2 separate regions of the Homo sapiens genome follow, and region 1 is linked to region 2. The links are contacts of gene promoters, found by promoter capture Hi-C in human tissues and cell types (Jung and others, 2019). All regions are on one chromosome and are shown on one strand. The core of a region is centred on a gene start or on the middle of the fragment in contact, and the rest is flanking DNA. Distances in the headings are between cores, read along the strand shown.

Evidence for each region. Contacts are between HindIII fragments. The study calls those that stand out against the background at their distance.
Region 1: a contact is called between a fragment that was not itself captured here and the fragment with the promoter of ZNF625-ZNF20 in region 2, in 7 of the 25 tissues and cell types used here (H1 embryonic stem cells, bladder, dorsolateral prefrontal cortex and 4 more).

What each region holds. Positions count from the first base shown.
Region 1 is chr19:12,188,886-12,193,078 of GRCh38, reverse strand. It overlaps ZNF136 (zinc finger protein 136), which reads right to left. Exons shown (of 4, transcript NM_003437.5): 4 at 3,208-4,193. Among named protein-coding and RNA genes, the nearest start is that of ZNF136, 28 kb to the right of the region's middle. The HindIII fragment of the contact is 7,748 bases long and covers 1-4,193 here.
Region 2 is chr19:12,154,839-12,158,931 of GRCh38, reverse strand. ZNF625-ZNF20 (ZNF625-ZNF20 readthrough (NMD candidate)) reads left to right here and starts at 2,201. Exons shown (of 8, transcript NR_037802.1): 1 at 2,201-2,376. ZNF625 (zinc finger protein 625) reads left to right here and starts at 2,198. Exons shown (of 4, transcript NM_145233.4): 1 at 2,198-2,376. The coding sequence starts at 2,374. RefSeq lists enhancers at 2,172-2,281, 1,844-2,535 and a silencer at 2,512-2,681. The HindIII fragment of the contact is 11,402 bases long and covers 1-4,093 here.

The DNA of each region.
Region 1 (4,193 bases), core at 1,328-3,827, 34 kb before region 2:
CCCCATCTCTTAAAAAAGAAAAATTTAAAAAACAAACAAAAAAGCAAAGCGGCTGCTCTATTTTCCATTCTCACCAGCAGTGTATGAGGGTTCCAAGTTCTCCATATCCTTGACATGTGTTATTATCTCACTTTTTCATTCTACCCATCCTAGTGGGTTTGAAGTGGTATTTCCTTGCCTTTTTGTTTAGCATTTACTTAATGATGTCCAGCATCTTTTCAGGTCCCCTTGCTCAGTTGTTTATCTTCCTTAGAAAAATGTATATTCAGCTGGGTGCTGTGGCTCACACCTGTAATCCCAGCACTTTGGAAGGCCGAGGTGGGCCGATCACTTCAGCCTAGGAGTTTGAGACCAGCGTGGCCAACATGGCAAAACCCGTCTCGACTCAAAATACAAAAATTAGCCAGGTGTCGTGGCACATACCTGTAATCCAAGCTACTCCAGAGCAAGACCATGTCCCCTCCGCCTCCAGAAAAAAAGCTGTAAAACAGGCTCTGGCAGATCATTCAGGAAGTATTCTGAAAGGTTTTTGTCTTTTTGTTTTCTGGGTTTTTTTTGAGACGAAGTCTGGCACTGTCGCTGGAGGCTGCGGCAGGAGAATCACTTATACCAGAGAAGTGGAGGTTGCAGTGAGCCAAGATCGCATCACTGAACTCCAGCCTGGGCAACAGAGCAAGACTCTGTCTCACAAAAGAAAAAAAAAAAAGAATTACTAGGGCCGGGCGCGGTTGCTCATGCCTGTAATCCCAGCACTTTGGGAGGCCGAGGCCAGTGGATCACGAGGTCAGGAGATCGAGACCATCCTGGCTAACACGGTGAAACCCCGTCTACTAAAAATACAAAAAATTAGCCGGGCGTAGTGGTGGGTGCCTGTAGTCCCTGCTACTCGGGAGGCTGAGGCAGGAGAATGGCGTGAACCCGGGAGGCGGAGCTTGCAGTGAGCTGAGATTGCGCCACTGCACTCCAGCCTGGGTGACAGAGCAAGACTCCGTCTCAAAAATAAAAAGAATTACCAAGGGTAGAATTAAGTTCACCTCTTCACTATATCAAATACAGAGAAATTTTTTGCTTCCTTAAATAGGAATCAAGCAACCAAAAAGCAGCATAAGTTCTGCAATAAATTCTTTTAAATACCCTCTTATTGATACACCTTACAGTCATTACTGGTTTGTGGTGGTATTTATTATTTTTTTATTTTTTGAGAGAGTCTCACTCTGTTGCCCAGGCTGGAGTGCAGTGGCGTGCTTGGCTCACTGCAACCTCCACTCCCAAGTAGCTGGGATTACAGATGTGCACCACCACACCAGGCTAATTTTTGTATTTTTAGTAGAGACAGGGTGTTGCTATGTTGTCCAGGCTGGTCTCCAATTCCTGGCCTCAAGTGATCTGCCCGCATTGGCCTCCCAAAATGCTGGGATTACAGGGTGAGCCACCGCGCCCGGCCTGTGGTAGTATTTATTACCACAATTTATTACACCCTGCTTGACAACAGGGACGTCCCTGATAGTCCTTGGAAAGAAATCACTCACAACATGATTTGACTTTTGGTATTATGCATATGAAAAACTACTATCATCATAAAAGTTGTAATCAAATAAGCATGAAAACTAAAATTTATGAGGAAAAAAAGGCCTGAAGTTGTAAGCTCACAGTAATATTGACTCACAATGTTGGACAAATAGCTTAATTATAAAGTTTATCGGATCCATGATTGGAATGGGATATTTTAATATATATTCTCAATAAATACAAAACTCACCAGACAGTATGCAAGTTGCTTGCATACTGTTAATATTTCTAAGAAATGTGTAGAGAACTTTTGTTTGAGGAGGACATGTATATTGTTTGTAATCATATGTACTCAAACATAATTCAAAATAAACTGAGGGACTGCATTCAGCTATGAGTAACAGGAAACACCCACAATGTTTCTATAATGAATAAGGTGCTTATTCTCACATGAAAGAACGGGGTGAGACCCATCTCTGCATAATGCAGCAGAGGAACAAGCTCCATGTAGGGTTTTTCGTTTTGTTTTTGGATAGTGCCATTGTAGCTCTCAACCTGCATCAGTAACACTCACTGTCCCTATGGACAAAAATGTTTATGTACAAACTGGACCGTACAGGAACCAAGTCAGATCATCAGACTATTCCCAACAATGACAATATGAACTGATTACTTGGCAGATATATTAGGGCCTTCAGGAATATCCAAATGGCAGCTGAATCTTTGATATGAAGCTTTTAAAAACATCTATGGAAATCCATAACTTTGAGAACATGGAGGTGAAGTAGCTAGTGGTGGATTAGAGGATACTCTTTTTTTTTTTTTTTTTTTTTTTTTTGAGACAGGGTCTTACTCTGTACTCTGTCACCCAGGCTGGAGTGCAGTGGCATGATCTTGGCTCACTGCAACCTTCACCTCCCTGGCTCAAGCGATTCTCCTGCCTCAGCTGGGACTATAAGCACGCGACACCACACCCAGCTAATTTTTGTATTTTTAGTAGAGATGGGGTTTCACCATGTTGACCACGCTGGTCTCGAACTCCTCACCTCAGGTGATCCGACCGCCTTGGCCTCCCAAAGTGCTAGAATTACAGGTGTGAGCCAGCACACCCGGCTGAGGATACTCTTGATTGGCAGGGCAAAGAATCAGGAAAATGGGCTAGATGACCATGTCCAAACAGCCCATATGCATCTGTCTCTCCGTATGATGCCTCCAAAATCTGACTAATGCGTTCTTCACTTCTGCATTCTAAACTTCCAGGAATTTAGGCTATTGATGCAGTCTACAGGTAACCATGAAAGAAAGAAATTCTGGGCCAGGCACAGTGGCTTATGCCTGTAATCCTAGTGCTTTAAGAGGCTGAGGCTAGAGGGTGACTTGAGGCCAGGAGTTTGAGACCAGTCTGGGCAACATAGCAAGACACCATCTCTACAAAAAAAAAAAAAGATGAAAAACCAAAAATAAAAAGATTAGCTGGGCTTGGTGGCACATACCTATAGTTCCAGCCATTTGGGAGGCTGAGGTCGGAAGGCCACCTGAGCTCCAGAGTTTGAGGTTACAGTGAGCCACAGTCGTGCCACTGCACTCCAGCCTGAGTGACAGAGTGAGACCCTATTTCAGAAAGAAAGAAAGAAATGAAGTCTGAAAAGTTTAGTTCCCATTACCCAGATTGACATGACACAATCCATGAAAGGCATCTCCCATTTTAGATTTTATTATTCTATCATAGCTGTCTCCTTATCCCAAAATCAATTATACAAAGAGCAGCCAGAATAAATAACAAGGAGTAAAGAACAACAGGTTAAAATAATAATTCACGAGACTACAGTCTGTGATAAACTTTACATACTTAGAATTAACAACAACTCTTTAATAGGAAGCAAAATAAAATTATTTGAGCCAAGAAAAAAAAAATGGGCTAGGTGTGATGGCTCACACGTGTAATCCCAGACTTTAGGAGGCTGAGGTGGGTGGATCACTTGAGGTCAGGAGTTCTACCAGCCTGGCCAACATGGTGAAACCCCATCTCTACTAGAAATACAAAAAATTAGCCAGGTGTGGTGGCACATGCCTGTAGTCCCAGCTTCCTAGGAGGCTAAGGTGGGAGAATCACTTGAACCCAGAAGGCAGAGGTTGCAATGAGCCGAGATCATGCCACTGTACTCCAGCTTGGGCAACAGAGCACAGAGCGAGACCCTGTCTCAAAAAGAAAAAAGAAGAAAGAAAAAAGAAAAAAGGAAAAAAAAGGAGCTGTTCCAATAAATATGATGGAATGTATATAATGTGGAAAGGGAATCAAGAACCTGCTAAATGAAGCAAGTAGGTTCATACCAACATTTATTAAGACTTATTTTTCAGTGGTCCTCAATCACAGAACAATTAAGCAACCATATACAATTTAACATACCTGAATATGAGAAACACATTTAAATTCATTGTTGGATTAAACACATTTCAAAATGGAAAGACAAATATTTTATTTACTGACCTAAAACAACACTACCTATGAAATTCATGCACTATTGCTTTCAGATTACTTACAGGATTATATCAATTTAACATTTCTTTGTGAGATTAAGCATTTGAAATCCATAGTCAGAGAACTATTTTAAATATGAGCCACTAATTAACAAAATATACATATAGCTTCTACATTTCCATCAGGTTATGTATTTTCTAGAGAC
Region 2 (4,093 bases), core at 952-3,451:
GGAGTCTCGCTCTGTCGCCCAGCTGGAGTTCAGTGGCACAATCTCAGTTCACTGCAACCTCCATCTCCCGGGTTCAAGCGATTCTCCTGCCTCGGCCTCCTGAGTAGCTGGGATTACAGGCGTGTGCCACCACGCCCGGCTAATTTTTGTATTTTTAGTAGAGACGGGGTTTCACCATGTTGGTCAGGCTGGTCTCGAACTCCTGACTTCGTGATCCGCCCGCCTCGGCCTCCCAAAGTGCTGGGATTACAGGCGTGAGCCACCGCGCCCAGCCGGCAGCAATATTTTATAAAGGAATCAAAAGAAAAGTAAAGCAAACATTTGAAGTAGTTCAGATAAGCAGCCTGCTTCATGCACAGTTCACAAGGAAAACCCTCTGTCAGAAGGTAAATGATATTTCCAAGCTTGGAAGCCAAACTGTGACTGCTGAAATGGAGCCCCCCAGGGCGGGTCAGTCCCAGATGATGAGGCAGAGAAAATTAAGGATTTATCTGGGAGTTTGAAATGCCCTTCTGTCCCCTCCTCAGTTTAGAAATTATTCTCTCCTTTAAGACCTTCATTTTCACCAACAGGAAGCTCTCGACTTGAGTCAGTTTAAGCTAAATTTACTGTTAAATTCATAAACCCGCAGGGCGCGGTGGCTCACGCCTGTAATCCCAGCACTTTGGGAAGCCGAGGCGGACGGATCACGAGGTCAGGAGATCGAGACAATCCTGGCTAACACGGTGAAACCCCGTCTCTACTAAAAATACAAAAAATTAGCCGGGCGTGGTGGCAGGCGCCTGTAGTCCCAGCTACTTGGGAGGTTGAGGCAGGAGAATGGCATGAACCCGGGCGGGAGGCGGAGCTTGCAGTGAGCCGAGATTGCGCCACTGCACTCCAGCCCGGACGACAGAGCGAGACTCCGTCTCAAAAAAAATGATAATAAATACAATAAAATAAAATAATAAATAAAAATTCATAAACCCTTTCTCCAGGAGGCATCCCAAATGGGTCTTGCTCTAATTCTGACCTTCACAGATTTTCTTTTTCTTTTTCTTTCTTTTTTTTTTTTGAGACAGTCTAGCCCTGTCGCCCAGGCTGGAGTGCAGTGGCGCAATCTCGGCTCACTGCAAGCTCCGCCTCCCGGGTTCACGCCATTCTCCTGCCTCAGCCTCCCGAGTAGCTGGGACTATAGGCGCCCGCCACCGCACCCGACTAATTTTTTGTATTTTTAGTAGAGACGGGGCTTCTCCGTGTTAGCCAGGATGGTCTTGATTTCCTGACCTCGTGATCCGCCCGCGTCGGCCTCCCAAAGTGCTGGGATTATAGGCGTGAGCCACCGCTCCCGGCCGTAAAGATTTTTAAATAATAAAAACAGGGGTCTAGGGTGGGGGGATGTGGGAGGGATAACATTAGGAGATATACCTAATGTAAATGACGAGTTAATGGGTACAGCACACCAACATGGCGCATGTATACATATGTAACAAACCTGCACATTGTGCGCATGTACCCTAGAACTTAAAGTTTAATAAATAAAAATTAAAAAAAAAAAACAACAAAACAGGGGTATTCTTGTGTTGACCAAGTTGGTCTTTAACTCTTTACTTTAAGGGATCCTCCAGTCTTGGCCTCCCAAAGTGCTAGGATTACAGGCGTGAACCACCGCACCCTGCCTGTGTTCAGGTCACAATCTCTTCTAGCTTGGATAAAGGGAAAGAAATAAAGGGGGAGAGGGCATGGTTTCATCAATGGAGATTCTCTGCAGATGCAAATTCCCCCCCTCCAAAGACAGCTTTGCCAGTCCACTTTTTTTTGCGGCCGAGCCACAGCCATTTCAAAATCTGTCAAATAAATATATTTTGGCGTAAAATATTTTAATTTCCTTCACCTCCACTGGACTCTGAGTCTGGAATTTCCTGTGCAAGACAAAGGAGCAGGGACAGCCCATTGAGTGAGGAAGACAACGGTACCCCCTCTAGCAATTCGGAGCAAATTTGGCTGAAATGCAAATACCCAAAGAGCAAGACGCAGGGAGGGAGCTCGCTTAGATAATCTGTGGTTGGAACAGGTCATTTCGGTTCTGCCGGGCCTTGTTACCCAGGGCTTCCGCTGTCACTCAGGACCGATGGGACGGGGACTGGAGCCTCATCCAATCAGGGGCGCTGGGGCGGGGTCCTGCCAACTGTCCATCCGGGGAAGGGGAGGCCGCATTCCCGCTTTCCTGACTCCCAGGCGTCTTGCACCAAAGGGAGGTCGGGATCTCGGTTTTCCGGCCCCGAGAGGGACCAGGTGCCTCCGCCATAGCTTCTGTCGCTCCATCGCCCGCACTGTGACTGGACTGTTAGAGGGATCCGTGGAGAGGAGGCCAGGACACCTGGAAGCCGGGAAATGGTGAGTGTGCGGGGCCGGGGGTCCCGAGACGGGGGAGGGGCCGGGAGGAACCGGCTCGAACCGGCTCTAGCAGGACCCAGGCCTTCCTGCAGCGACTTCGGGTCTGCAGAGCGGAGTCCCCCTGGCGTAGCTCGGCCCTCGGTCCCTTCGGCCGCAGGGTGGGGTTGGGCCGGCAGCCGGGACCCCAGGCGTCCTGTCCCGTCTCTGCGCTGCGACTGCGACCCCGGCCCTGGCCCCGGCCCCGGAGCCCTCTCTGGGGAGCTCCGCGCCCGTAGTCCCGCGTCTCCCCAGATTGTGCGGAGACCACGGGAGGGTCATGGAGGCAATCCTGCCTCGGGTGTGTGGTTCGTGTGGGAGGAGCGGTGGGCTGCGGGGTCCCCAGTCCCCCCTTTTTTCCTGAAAAACTAAATTGAAGGCCAGGCGCAGTGGGTCACGCCTGGCAGGTTGAGGCGGGGGGATTGCTTCAGCCCAGAAATTCGAGACCAGCCTAGGCAACATACCGAGACCCTAGTTTCTATTAAAAATAAATTTTTAAAAAATGAGCCGGGCGTGGTGCCGCCCACCTGTAATCCCAGCTACTGGGGGGCTGAGGTGGGAGGATCGCTTGAGGGAGGAGATTGGGACTGCAGTGAGCCGAGATCGCGCCACTGCACTCCAGCCTGGGCGACTGAGCGAGACCCTGTCTCAAACAAAACAAAACAAAAACAACAGCAACAAACTAAACTGAGTCCTCTTAAAAATTAAAGAGTTTTGCTTCTCAGAATAGGAGTTTGAAAAAAATGAATGAGAAATGTTTCCTGAATGAGAAACACCCAGTCATGGCTTGCAGTTTGATAACGGAAAGAGCAAAACTCTGCAAAATAACTTGAACTATGTTCTACGCCGAATATGAGAGAACGTGACCAAGGGAAACAACCGCATGTAGCCTCGAGTAAGTGGTCCCCAGGAGGTTCGATGGCAGTTTGGTTTTATTCATTTCAGCGAGACAGGAATTGCAGGGAAAAGATCAATCAAGGCATGGAAGGCTGACAGGGCAGGACACGTAGAAGCGGGGCTTAGAAGGCACAGGTGGTTGAGGGATTCTGTAGTTGGCAGTTGGCTGAGAGTGTGAAGTTGTGTCTAAAATTTGAAAGGGGTAGGAAGGAATGTTTAAGTGAAGGGAGTCTGTTACCTGCCACGTGATTCCATCCCCACCAAAAAACAGATATGTTTCACTAGATTTTATGAATTCTAAGGCGTGACTTTACCCTTGCCTTGCATGGCCTTAGGTCTTGTTTGCAATTTAGTATTTATTGGTACAAAGGGTTTCTTTGCAGGTTTTTTTTTTTTTTTGAGATGGAGCCTCACTCTCGCCCAGGCTGGAGTGCAGTGGCGCAATCTCGGCTTACGGCAACCTCCGCCTCCTAGGTTCAAGCAATTCTCCTGCCTCAGCCTCCCAAGTAGCTGGAATTACAGGTGCACGCCACCATACCCGGCTAATTTCTGTATTTTTAGTAGAGATGGGGTTTCACCATGTTGGCCAAGCTGGTCTCAAACTCCTGACCTCAAATAATCCGCCTGCCTCCGCCTCCCTCCGCCTCCCAAAGTGCTAGGATTACAGGACTGAGCCACTGTGCCCGGCCTCTTTGCAGGTCTTATGTCTATTTTAATATGAATGTGGGTCAGTTGCTGTGTCTAAACTCCAGAAGGGAGTATGGAGTGTCTGATCTCCCTTACT